Regions from separate parts of the Homo sapiens genome. Here all the other regions are linked to region 3. Evidence: promoter capture Hi-C in human tissues and cell types (Jung and others, 2019). All regions are on one chromosome and are shown on one strand. The core of a region is centred on a gene start or on the middle of the fragment in contact, and the rest is flanking DNA. Distances in the headings are between cores, read along the strand shown. Region 1 overlaps AHCYL2 (adenosylhomocysteinase like 2). Region 2 overlaps SMO (smoothened, frizzled class receptor). Region 3 holds the start of IRF5 (interferon regulatory factor 5).

Region 1 (4,363 bases), core at 1,538-4,037, 410 kb after region 3:
TGAACTTTGTGCCATAGTTAAAAACAAATGAAGAAATAAAATTCAGATTTTAGAAACCTATCTTATGGGATTATCATGAGGATTAAATGAGTCATGTATATAATCTAATGCATTGTCTGGCATGTAGTTAAGTATATAATACTTACTAAATATGATACTTACTAGCCGTTGTTTGTCCCTTCCCCTCCAGTTCCATAATTGCTGTTTGGAGGGTTCACAGGATTTATTTTCTTCACCTAGGCCAAGGATTGTTAACCTGAATGGATCAATGAACCTTTGAAATTGCAAATTTTGTATAAGCATATGCTTATTCCAGACTTTCCAGATTCTAGAGAGAAGAGGGTCTGTGACTTTAATCAGATTTGCTAAGGAAGGGAAGGTCCCATGGCCCTAAAAAGTTAAAACACACTAACCTAAGCTGTTTTGCTATTTTATGTTTCTTTCCACCAGAAAATACTCTGCTGTCAGATCGTTTTCTCTTTACAGCTAGGAAGAGACTCTGGCTGACTTTTATTCCTCACAACTTTTATCTTTTCTAAATATATCATGTCTAGGCAAGTAATTTAAACTTTCTAGGTCTCAACTTCTTAACTGTAAAAAGAAGTGATTGATCTGGACAAATTCAAAGGTTCCCTTCATCTTGAAAATGTTTTGATTCTATCTAGGTTTACTCTGTATGGGCTTTAAAAATTAGAAATATTGTCATAAACCAAGAAAAACCCTTATGCTAAGAATAATCTTTAGGTAGAGACCTAAATCTTGACTGAGGGATAAAATTGGAGGTTTGTATATACAAATATAAGAACTTATGTCAGGCCGGGCATGGTGGCTTATGTCTGTAATCCCAGCACTTGGGAAGGCTGAGGCGAGAGAATCACCTGAGGTCAGTTCGAGACTAGCCTGGCCAACATGGTGAAACCCCATCTCTACCAAAAAAAAAAAAAAAAAAAACCCACAAAAATTAGCCAGGCGTGGTGGCACATGCCTGTAATCCCAGCTACTCAGGAGGCTGAGTGAGGCAGGAGAATTGCTTGAACCCGGGAAGCGGAGGTTGTAGTGAGCTGAGATGGCATCATTGCATTCCAGCCTGGGCAACAATGCAAGACTCTGTTTCAAAAAAAAAAAAAAAAAAAAAGCGTATGCCAACCTGATTCCATATAGAACAGCCATGGTTTATTTTCACATTAGCAATAAAGCTACCTTACTAAAGAGATAGGGCTATGTAAGATGCCCTGGTAGTCCTGTTGACATCTCTGTAAAACCTCTCCCATCTCAAGGTCTTTTCTCTGCTTTGTTTTGGGAAAAGGGGAGAATAGTAGAACCAGTGAGTTGTAGTTCTACACTAATAAAAAATGCCTCTATCAATATTGATCATTATCTGTTACTTGATTGAAGTCCAGATCATAGTTCTTATTTATGAAAAACCAATCTGCATACTTTAACTCAGATGTACATTTAGTTATTCATATTATTGTACAACTCAATTACTCAGAAACATTTGTCCCAAATTTATACTGTGGTCATTTTTGCCTATTGCTTCAAAAGGCTTTATAGAAGATGGGATTCTTGACTTACAAGGCAGTTCAGGGTTAATCCATTCAACAAGCATGTGAAGATAAGGGCATTTCAGATAAAGCATGCAGAGGTACCTGGATTCAGGTTTTAGCTCTGTGTCTTATGAGCTCTGATCTTGGGTCAGTCACTTATCCTGTCCATACTTGTTTCCTCAGTTGTGAAATGGTGATAATAAAAGCACCTACTGTATAGCATTATAAGGATTAAATGAGATAATACATGCCAAAGCAACATAGTATTTGGAATGTAGAAAGCATTCAATAAATGTAGTCTTTTTTTTTTTTTTTGGAGATGGAGTCTCACTTTTGTCACATGGGCTGGAGTGCAATGGCGTGGTCTCAGCTTACTGCAACCTCTGCCTCCCGGGTTCAAGGGATTCTTTCACCTCAGCCTCTCAAGTGGCTGGGACTACAGGTGCATTGTGCCACCATACCTGACTAATTTTTGTATTTTTAGTAGAGACAGGGTTTCACTATGTTGGCCAGGCTGGTCTCGAACTCCTGACCTTGTGATCCTCCTGCCTCGGCCTTCCAAAGTGCTGGGATTACAGGTGTGAGCCATTGCACCCAGCCTCCTTCATTTTCTTTTTCTTTCTTTCTTTCTTTTTTTTTTTTTTTTTATCTTTTAGGGATGGAGTTTTGCTCTGTTACTCAGGCTCTCAGCTCACTGCAATCTCTGTATCCCAGGTTCAAGTGCTTCTCCTGCCTCAGCTTCCTGAGTAGCTGGGATTAGAGGCTCCCGCCATGATGCCCCGCTAATTTTTGTATATTTAGTAGAGACAGGGTTTCACCATGTTGACCAGGCTGGTCTTGAACTTCTGACCTCAGGTGATCCACCCTCCTCGGCCTCCCAAAGTGCTGGGATTACAGGCGTGAGCCACCGCGCCCGGCCCCGGCCTAATTTCTTTTTTAAAAGCAAACAATTCATCCTTAAGTATTAGAAATAGCATAAATTTTATTTTATTCTAGAATATTATTAAATTCTAAAATAGCAGTTTTAAATAATTTTAAATTTATGAAAGTTGAAAAAAGTTTTGAATTTTATTTTAAAACAAGTCAAAGATATATACTTATTTTTGGTGTTTCCGCATAGGCATAAGGAACACTTTTGGATTTTAAAAATAACAACTTATTGGATGATAGTGAAGTTACAGAGATTATAGTAGGTATACCTGGAGATACCAGCAGGAACATAGTAGAAATAATAAGCCAAAAACACTTTTATTTATACTGTAACCAATCTCCTTGGAAAACTTTAGAAAACACAAAAATATACAAGCATACATTCCATTTATTCAGCCTGATGACGTCATCACACATACAGCCTCTGGAAAACCCCACTCTACACTCAAGAGAGAATGAAAAGTGAAAAAGACAAAGGACATTTTAGTATTATGAAAATGCTTTTGACCTCAAAAGCCCCTGAATCAAAGGGAAAGGTGAAAAGGAAATCGCCATTGGCAATGGTAGAGGCTATGGAAGATTGGGTCTTGCAAAATTTATTAGAAGACGTTTCTGAAGAGAAGACCTTCTGAGGCACCCCTTTGCAGGTAAAAAAACATTCATGTCCTCTTTCTCCACAAAGCTTTTGTTAATCACCAGACCTCACAGTGGTCTCGCAGCACCTCTTAAAGCAGTGGTTCTCAAAATGTGGTCCATGGACTCCCAGGAGTCCCTGATACTGTTTTTCAAGGTCTGTGAGGTCAGAGCTGTTTTCATAATAATACTAAGGTGTTTGCCTTTTCTATGGTGTTGACATTTTGCACTAATGGTATATAAGCAATGATAGGTAAGTAATTAATAACCATTAGTTATTGTATTTGTCATTGGTGTGTACTTGCAGATAACATCTTTCTTCCAGTTTCACTTAGAATGTTTTTGATGAAGCCATTAAAATGATTAGTTTTATTAAATATCAATCCTGGAGTATAATTTTTTTTTTAATGAACTGGGAAGTACACATAAAGTACTTCGGCTGCATGCTGAAATATAATGGTTGTCTTGAGGGAAAGCATTCCTGATTGTTTGAGTTGCAAACTGCACTAGGCTCCTTTTTTTAATCATGTATCTCTTTTACTTTACAGAGAGACCATGGTTATTCAGGTTTGGGCATCTGGCAGATATTTTCTTGAAAATGAACGAAGTGAGCCTGTCTCAAGGAAACTGACAGTATTTGTTGTCAATGATAAAATTCAAGCTTTCAAATGGAAATTAGAATTTTGGAAAACCCAAACCCGCCACCATGAGCTTGACAGCTTCCAGTCAAGCTGTCCCCGGTGTAGACCTCGTATTTGAGCTCCAGACTCTCACTCTACCTATCTATATATATACTGTGTCCACATAAATGTTTCATATTCTAAATTTAACATGTCCACAATGGAATTTTTTATTTCTCCCACAAAACTTTCTCTCTTTCACCCTGCCCCAATTTTTCTCATCTTAGTAAATCACCTCCAACCCAGTTGTTCAAACTAGAATTGAAGTCATTATTTCTTTTTCCTCACCTCCTACGTCCAATCCGTTAGCAAGTCTTTTGAGTTCTGCTGTTAAGATAACCTCAGATCTGCTTGCTTTTCTCCACCTTTGCCATTAGCCTATTCCAGGTTACCATCATCTTGCACTTGATCTCCTGCATCAGGTATCTCATTGGTCTTCCCTTCTTGCCTGTCTCTAATCCATTTTCCACACAGCAGCAGATGTAAATAGAAATTATTTCATGTCACTCCATTGCTTAAAATCCTTTAATAATGCCCATTATACATAGAATAAAATTCAAATTCCTTAGCTTA
Region 2 (4,602 bases), core at 544-3,043, 270 kb after region 3:
CTAATTTTTGTATTTTTAGTAGAGACGGGGTTTCACCATGTTAGCCAGGCTGGTCTTGAACTCCTGACCTAAAGTGATCCACCACCTCAGCCTCCCAAAGTGCGGAGATTACAGGCATGAGCCACAGTGCCCAGCCTCACAGCTTGTTAGGTGGAGTTGGGTCAGGATCCAGCCCCAGTCAGCTCCTGGCCGGTGCACTTGTGTGATGAACACCCTGAGTAACCTACTCTGCCCACTTGGACCAACCTAGGTCGTTTGGTTATCTGTGTGCACATTAATTCGATATGTACTGTCAATCTTCTGGAGCTTGGTTTTCATCTTCTTTCTGTCCCCGGCACACACAGCTCTCACAGCATGCGTGGAATTAGTGGTCCCTAACTTTCCTGTCTCATGCTGCCATCCCATAGTAAGCCTCAGCATCTATTTAGCTCATTGTTGTTGGGTTTTCTTTGTAAACCTCAGTTTCCTCACCCTGAACTGCCAGCCTTCTGTTCAGTCACCTCTTTCCCCTCTTTTTGGCATAGTGTCTGGCCCTCTGATTTGTGCTTCGTTATCATGCTGTCCTAGTATGGTAATCACTAGCCACATGTGTTGAACTAGTCCAGCCTGGGTGCGGCGGCTCACTCCTGTAATCCCAGTACTTTGGGAGGCTGAGACGGACGGATCACTTGAGCTCAGAGTTCGAGACCAGCCTGAACAACATAGTGAAACCCCATCTCTACAAAAAATACAAAAGTTGCCTGGGCAGGGTGGCACATGCCTGTGGTCCTAGCTATGTGAGAGGCTGAGGTGGGAGGCTTGCTTGAGCCCAGGAGGTTGAGGCTGCAGTGAGCCATGATCTTGCCACTGCACTCCAGCCTGAGTGACAGAGTGAGACCCTGTCTCCAAAGAAAACAAGACAACAACAAAAAGAAACAAGTCCAAATTGAGATGTGTTGTAAAATGTGAAATACACACTGTATTAAAAAAAAAACTTAGTGGGAAAAAAATGTAAAATATCTCATTAATAATTTGTTACATGGATTACATGTTGAAATGATTTTATTTTGAATATATTAGGTTTGTAAAATATATTGATATTAGTTTTGCTTGTTTCTTTTAACTTTTTTTAAGTGGCCACTAGAAATTTGCCATATGTATGTGGCTCACATATTTCTATGGGAAGGCCGGCATGGTGGCTCACACCTGTAATCCCAGCACTTTGGGAGGCCGAGGTGGGCAGATCACCTGAGTTCAGGAGTTCAAGACCATCCTGGCCAACATGGTGAAACCCCATCTTTACAAAAATACAAAAATTAGCCGGCGTGATGGTAGGTGCCTGTGATCCCAGCTGCTTGGGAGGCTGAGGCAGGAGAATTGCTTGAACCTGGGAGGCGGAGTTTACAATGAGCCGAGATCACGCCATTGCACTCCAGCCTGGGCGACAGGGTTCCATCTCAAAAAAAAAATTATATGGATAGCGCTGTTCTTGAGTCTGTTTTATGTCTTTCCCATCAGAACAGCTTTGATCTGCCCCCTTCTTCAGGGGCAGCTGGGCCACGACCGAGGCTCCCTCTTCTCAAGTGTCTGTCTAGGCTCTGCCCTGGTCTTCTCACCATTTCTCCAGTGTCTCTAGCTCCCCAGGTTTTCATTTAGCACAGGGGTAATCAGACTTGGGACTCCAGAGCCTTAGGACCCTCCTCCCACTCACCCATCCTTCCCAGCAGGGCAGCCTCACCCCTGCTAATGTCTGAGGTCCCCCTTCTGTTCAGGAGTCATGACTCTGTTCTCCATCAAGAGCAACCACCCCGGGCTGCTGAGTGAGAAGGCTGCCAGCAAGATCAACGAGACCATGCTGCGCCTGGGTGAGTGGCCCCGGGGGACTTCGGTCTGAGGTCCTGGCCAGCCCAACACTGCACCCTCCTGGGGCTATGCGACCGGCAGGATGCAGTAAGTCAGTGGGACAAGTTAGCCATAGGGACAAGGACAAGGGGTGTGTGTAGGTGGTAGTGGTAGTGGCAGCTCAAAAGAAGGGGGTCTACTCGGGGGGAAGAATTCAGTCAAGTTCATGCCGGGACTGGTTCCTCCTGCCCACTACGTCCCACGTGGTCCCTCCCACAGTTGCTTCAAGTGCCCTTCTTATTTTATTTTAGAGAAAGCAGTTCTTGGACTGAGCCCAGCATGAGTTCACCCCAGCCCCAGCTGGGTGAACTTTGAGGCCCAGTGGGGCAGACTCTCTCCTCCCCACTGCTGCTGCGGGACTGGGCTTGGTAACGTCCTGTCCTGCCCCTGTCCTCCACAGGCATTTTTGGCTTCCTGGCCTTTGGCTTTGTGCTCATTACCTTCAGCTGCCACTTCTACGACTTCTTCAACCAGGCTGAGTGGGAGCGCAGCTTCCGGGACTATGTGCTGTGAGTGAGGGGCATGGAGGCGGCAGTGCTGGGAGCTGGAGCCAAGGCCATAAAGACACCCACCTCCACCCACCGGGCAGCAGGGATTTGCCAGGTCCCTGCTGCAGACAGCAGATTCAATGGATGGTGTCTGGGTGCATAAGGCATCAGTCTCCGTAGTTTCTCAAACGTGGCAAACAACCTTCGCATCCCTTCTCACCTCTGCCCTTCCCTCTCCACCCCCTTGGTTGCCCAGCTGGTGCATGTGTGACTGTTAAGCAGCCAGTTCAGCTTCGTCTTCTCTGACTGACACTAAGTTGCCCTCTAATTCTGTGTGCTCTCCTGCAGAGCCTGCTTTAGATCCTGGCACAGGACTAGTTACCTCTCTGTGATAGGTTAATGACCTGCTAATGTTGGCTAGTTTTTGCCTGTGCTTTTTTGTGTCATAATGAGGATGGATTGGAGAGAGTAAGACATTGCTACTGCTGAGAGAAGCGCAGTACCCACTGTTACAAGGACAGTCGCTAAAATGGATGCTAGTCCAAGCCCTGACTGCTTCAGGCTCTTCCGTAAAGGTTCCGGCTTCCAGTCTGGGATGCTTTAAACCACAGTGATGCCTGAGTCTCTGCCCCAGAGATTCAATTTAATTGTCTAGGGTGGGTCCCAGGCATCAGTAGCTATTAAAAGCTCCCCAGTTGATTCTAATGAGCACCCAGGGTTGAGATCAGTGCTGTGGAGCTTAGCCCTTTCTAAAGTTTTTGGATTGATTGTCTGAGTCTACCCAGTAGACTCAGAAAACCCCACCTGTAGTCCCAGCTACTTGGGAGGCTGAAGCAGGAGATTGCCTGAGCCCAGGAGTTGGAAGCTGCAGTGGGTTGTGATCACGCCACCGCACTCTAGCCTGGGTGACAGAGCAAGATCCTATCTCAAAAAAAGAGAGAGGAAAAGAAAGGAAAGCCTCACCTGTCTACGTTCCCTCACTGTAGATGTCAGGCCAATGTGACCATCGGGCTGCCCACCAAGCAGCCCATCCCTGACTGTGAGATCAAGAATCGCCCGAGCCTTCTGGTGGAGAAGATCAACCTGTTTGCCATGTTTGGAACTGGCATCGCCATGAGCACCTGGGTCTGGACCAAGGCCACGCTGCTCATCTGGAGGCGTACCTGGTGCAGGTGGGCATGGCAGCCAGCCCCTCCTGCCCTGCCCGCCTCACCCTCAGCCTTGGGACCCCATCTTTAGGTTTTGTCGGGTCCTGCCTCTAGCACAGCCTTGGTCAGTGGTTCACCGCTGCCCCCTGGTGGCACCTTCTGTCCTTGGGTGGCCTGATGCCTGGGCCTGGGCCTGGGCCAAGGGCAGAGCCAGCTGCCATCACCTTTTAAGAGCGGAGTGATTGGAGGGCTGGGCACACAGGAGCTCTGCATTCTGGCCCCACTTCTTTGCAGAGAAGGCCTCTACTCCTGAGTCCTTGAAGGACTTGAGGCCCTTGGGAGCCTCCTTCTCTGGAAAGAATGGCATCGCTGGCCCTTCCCAAGATTTGATGGGAAGTGGCAGCTTCTTCACGCTCCTTCCCTATCCCTTCTGCTCTCAGGTTGACTGGGCAGAGTGACGATGAGCCAAAGCGGATCAAGAAGAGCAAGATGATTGCCAAGGCCTTCTCTAAGCGGCACGAGCTCCTGCAGAACCCAGGCCAGGAGCTGTCCTTCAGCATGCACACTGTGTCCCACGACGGGCCCGTGGGTGAGCCTCACCCCTCCTCTACCGGAGCCGCCTGGCCCCGCGCTGCCCATGTGCTAGTCTCTCCCAGCCTGCTGGGGGCACACAGATTATTTGGAAGACCGACTGTGAGGAGCAAGGCGCTCCCTCCATCGCTCACACACCCATTCTTCCCCCGGCCCCTCCTACCCTCTGGGGGGCTCTCCCCTCTCTGTTTCTGCCCCTGGGTCTGCTTGCCGGTGCTTGGGTTCCAAGAAGACTCCCCTCCCTCTCCCTTCTCATAAATTCTCCAGTTGCTCTCCCTGGGCAAGAGTAAGTCAGGGTTCCAAGAACTGGATTTCTGGCCTCCAGTTAGGCCCTTTGGGGACGTGAGGCCCTTCTCTTCAGATTCTGAAGGGGTAGAGATCACCGTGGTTACAGGGTGAGCTTTCTCTGGTGAGCAGGAGGGACTGGCTGTGGGAAGATGAATGGCACTGACTATGGGAGGCACTGCCAGGGACCGGGAAGTCACTATTCCTTC
Region 3 (4,043 bases), core at 1,055-3,554:
TCTAAGGAAGGGGCCTCACCTGAGCAAGATGGACAGTGGGAAGGGGGCAGAGGGCAGAATTCTAGGGTCTCACGGTCCCTCAGAATGGGTGAGGAGTATTTGATAACAAAAGAAGGCTCTTCTTAGCTATTGCTCCAGATACGACCAGCATAGAATATTTTTCTATTAAGCATAACTGACCTCCAGTGAAAAAGGTTCCCATTTTGTGGGGAGCCACTTTTGAAATAGCAATTTCATTTTATTATTATTATTTTGAGATAAGATCTCACTTCTACGCCCAGGCTGGAGTGCGGTGGTGTGCCTCCTGGGTTCAAGCAATTCTCCCACCTCAGCCTCCCAAGTAGGTGGAACTATAGGTGTGTGTCACCACGCCAGGCTAATTTTTGTATTTTTTGTAGAGACAAGGTTTTGCCATATTGCCCAGGCTGGTCTCGAACTCTTGGACTCAAGTGATCTGCCTGCCTTAGCCTCTCAAAGTGTTGGGATTACAAATGTGAGCCACCGTGCCTGGCCTAGCAATTTCATTTTTAAAGAAAGAAATATAAAACGATCTACCCATTCACATTTTCCCCATCCATACTTTAAATTTTAAAAATATGAAATAATGAAATACTCAGCAGATACAAATAATAAAATACTTATATATAATGATATTTCGACTTCATATTAGGGCTTCAAAGGTCAGGAAAGAGGGAGAGATACAGAAGAGAAAAAAAAAAAACGTTAACACATGAGTGTCTTTTTTTAACTTGTTAAAGGTAAAGTTCAACCCAGGAGAAGGGAGGGGAGGGAAGGTCAAAGTTCTGATTCATCAACAAATACTACTTTATTTGTTAAAAATACAAGGCTCTGCTTGGCGCAGTGGCTCCCGCCTGTAATCCCAGCACTTTGGGAGGCCAAGGCGGGTGGATCGCCTGAGGTCAGGAGCTCGAGACCAGCCTGGCCAACATGGTGAAACCCCGTCTCTACTTGGGAGGCTGAGGCAGGAGAATCGCTTGAACTGGGGAGGCAGAGGTTGCAGTGAGCTGAGATCGCACTGCTGCACTCCAGCCCGGGTGACAGAGCAAGACTCCATATCAAAAAATAAAATAAAATAAAATGAACAATGAAAAGACAGGAGGGAGGTTCCTGAGTAAGCTGATTCGAGTGGAAATCAGACATCAAAATTGAAACCCGCTGAATTTTCCAAAAAGCCAGATGCTCATAGAACTGAAGCTTGAGACACTTACATCAGTACACCTGCTGCCTGTTGACCAATTCCTCTTCCTTGTCCCTCCTGTTTTCCTTCCCTGCTATATAAGCCCCTAACTTTAGTCAAGGGGAGGGATGGATTGGAGGTTTGTCTCCCCTCTCAACAGCTCACTGGCTGATGTCACCGGAATAAAGTCTTCCCTGGCAATACTCGCTGTCTCAGTGATAGGCTTTCTGTGCGGTGAGCAGCCAGACCTGGACCAAACCCCTGGCAATCCATAACAAAATCATAAGCAAAATCAACCAGGAAGCTATTTGCACCCTGGAACCCCACCTGGGAGGGGAAGTCAAGGCAGACTTTCCAGAGAAGGCGATGCTGAAAATTTCAGAAACAGAAATTTTGAAGAGCAAGAGTTACCAAGCGAAGAACATTCCATGAGAAGGAACAGGAGGTGTGTGAAGGTGGAGGTTCTGGGGTGAGGTTCTTTATGGAATCGAAAACGGTTCAGAACCACAGGTCGACGGTCAAGGTAGTAGTGAGAGGAGGTGGGACAGGCGACCACGCCGCTGCCCCTGGGATGACTGGAAGGCGACTTAGGGGAGCTGGGGCGAGACAGGTGCAGGGTTTGAGGATGAGAAAGGCACAGAGTGACTAGAGGATTCCCGCCTGCAAGCACATCTGGAAGGGGTGTCTGGATCCTGGGGGCAGCGACTGTGTTCTAGGGCGAGAGCCACCCTCGCCAGGGGTGTAGGCAGGCGAGAGGAGGGCCTGGAGCTGTGGGTCGGCCACACTGCGCCCTCATTTGTGTGCAGCCCCGGAGGACCAGAGTGGGGAAGCACCCCACCCTCTCCCAGGGCCCAACTGAGCACTGCAGCGGGAGGTACGGGGTTGTCAAATGACAGTTTTGCCATTCCAGATTGCCAAAAGAGCCAGTGGCCAGTCTAGGGCACCGCGCCGTCTGGCATCTCCCTGGAGGCCCTGGGCCTGGCCCGAGGCTCAGCCCGGATCTGCAGTTGCCAGGTCAGTGCGGGGCCCGGAGTGGATTCGCGGGGCGGGGCGGGGCACTGCCCGCGCCCGGAGCTCAGCAGCAGCTGCCCAGGGGCGGGGGCGGCAAGACGCGGAAGTGCCCGGCAGGTTGGCGGACCGGCGGGAGGCGCAGCCTGGGCAGAGCTCAGCTTGGTCCCGCCGCCCGGCCGGTGCTCCCTGGCGCAGCCACGCAGGCGCACCGCAGACAGGTGGGTCCCGGCCGCCGCGCTCTCCTCTCTGCGTCCGCGCCCGGCGCGCCCCGAGGGTGGCGGGAGCGGTGCCGGCTACTGCCCCCAAGTCTAGGCCTAGACTGGGCCCCGCGCCCCCCAGGCACCTGCGGGCGGCGGGATGAAGACTGGAGTAGGGCGGGGTCCGCGTCCAGCTGCGCCTGGAAAGCGAGCTCGGGTGGGTGCCTACAGCAGGGTGCGCCCGGCCGGCCTGGGACTTCCAAAGCGCCTCCCACGCCCCGATCGGTTTGGGGTGCTGGCGCCCGGGGAGCCCAGTGACCCAGGCGGCGGAGTGGGCAGCGCTGCGGGGGGCGCCGGCTCTGCTGCTCTCCCTCCCCCTCGCCATCGCCCAGAATGGGGGTTCCCGGGAGCCCCGCTGGAGGCTGGCTTGGACCACAGAGGAGCGAGGCCCGATCCTTACTTTCGATGCACTCGCCCTTGCTCTTACCGGGCCACCCTCACCCTTTCGGAAAAGAGGTTGAGGTTAAAGCGTTCATCCCCCGGGATCTTCAGGCCAATGGCAGGAACTGTGCAAGAGTTTGGGGGAAGATGGTGTCAGGTAGAGGCTGCGTCCCTGGGCTCGCGGCCGGGAATGGCAGACTCTCGTCCCCCGAGCAGCGGAAAAGGATGGGGCGCAATAGTTCCTGGGCTGGTTTCCTCAGGTCCTGTCCCAGAACTTAAGAAGGCAACAATGAAGAGGCTAAACGTGGAGGAAAAGTGAGGCTAGCATGGCCGGGATGCGTGGGGAGATGGTTGTCTCCGGACCCCGGGAGGGGCGGGAGCGGGTACCTGGGAGCAGAGGCTGGAGTGGGGGACTTTCCCAGCCTCGCGGCCACGCTGAACACAGCAGGGCGAGGACCGGGGTGCTGCTCCTCCAGCAGCAGGAGGAGAGGTCCAGAGGCCGACTCTGGAGGTGGGGGTGGCTCCGCGGGCTGGCCCAGGGGGTGTGCCCCAGCGGAGCACGCGGGAGGGGTGGGGGCGGAGGGGAGGGGGGAGCAGGGGCGGAGGACTGGGCTGGGCCTGGGCTCCTCGAGGGCCCAGAATGGGGATAAGTGACCAGAACCAGAGAGGGCTCGGCTGTATCGATGTAGGAAACTGTAGCCCCTCAGGAGGCCCTCTGGCAAGACCTCCCCTTCCTGCCCCCACCCCCAGTAGTTATGGGGCCTGGGGTGCTGGGGCTGAGGGGTTCCAAGAGTCAAGGGAAGCACTGGGAAATCACCCCTTTTTATCTAAAGGCCCTACTTTGGGGTTTTTCCCCTGTACCCTGGTCTTCCCCTACCCTGACCCTGGGAGGAAGCTGAAAGAAGCTTCTTTCTGGGCACCTTTTGCCCCAGAGCCTCAGCCTGTCTGGACCAGGTGGGCAGCAGGGCCCAGGGTGTGGGCAGCTGACCCGGAGGGGTGGGATTTGGGGGTCAGGGCCTGTACAGGGAACCCCTTGTCCTCTCCCTGAGCTGGGTGTGGGTTTGCAAGGAGACATGTGACCCAGACCAACCCTGGGAGCAGCAGGGCGCCTGCTGTCTGGCCACTCTTACTAGGACTGCTGTGGCACTTCCTCCCCTAGTGGGTCCCTGGTGCCCATGAATTGCAGCTCCTGGGTG

The links. Contacts are between HindIII fragments. The study calls those that stand out against the background at their distance.
Region 1: a fragment that was not itself captured here is called in contact with the fragment with the promoter of IRF5 in region 3 in 1 of the 25 tissues and cell types used here (mesenchymal stem cells).
Region 2: a fragment that was not itself captured here is called in contact with the fragment with the promoter of IRF5 in region 3 in 1 of the 25 tissues and cell types used here (lymphoblastoid cells).

The regions. Positions count from the first base shown.
Region 1 is chr7:129,348,538-129,352,900 of GRCh38, forward strand. The region is part of intron 1 of AHCYL2 (adenosylhomocysteinase like 2); the gene reads left to right. It overlaps LOC105375500 (a long non-coding RNA gene), which reads left to right. Exons shown (of 2, transcript XR_927962.3): 1 at 1-3,124; 2 at 3,659-3,940. Among named protein-coding and RNA genes, the nearest start is that of STRIP2, 84 kb to the right of the region's middle. The HindIII fragment of the contact is 3,062 bases long and covers 1,257-4,318 here.
Region 2 is chr7:129,207,008-129,211,609 of GRCh38, forward strand. It overlaps SMO (smoothened, frizzled class receptor), which reads left to right. Exons shown (of 12, transcript NM_005631.5): 7 at 1,752-1,844; 8 at 2,282-2,390; 9 at 3,356-3,541; 10 at 3,958-4,106. Among named protein-coding and RNA genes, the nearest start is that of AHCYL2, 16 kb to the right of the region's middle. The HindIII fragment of the contact is 7,558 bases long and covers 1-4,602 here.
Region 3 is chr7:128,935,623-128,939,665 of GRCh38, forward strand. IRF5 (interferon regulatory factor 5) reads left to right here and starts at 2,305. Exons shown (of 9, transcript NM_001098629.3): 1 at 2,305-2,427. RefSeq lists enhancers at 633-927, 2,595-3,178, 3,212-3,281 and a silencer at 2,172-2,931. The HindIII fragment of the contact is 4,364 bases long and covers 1-2,483 here.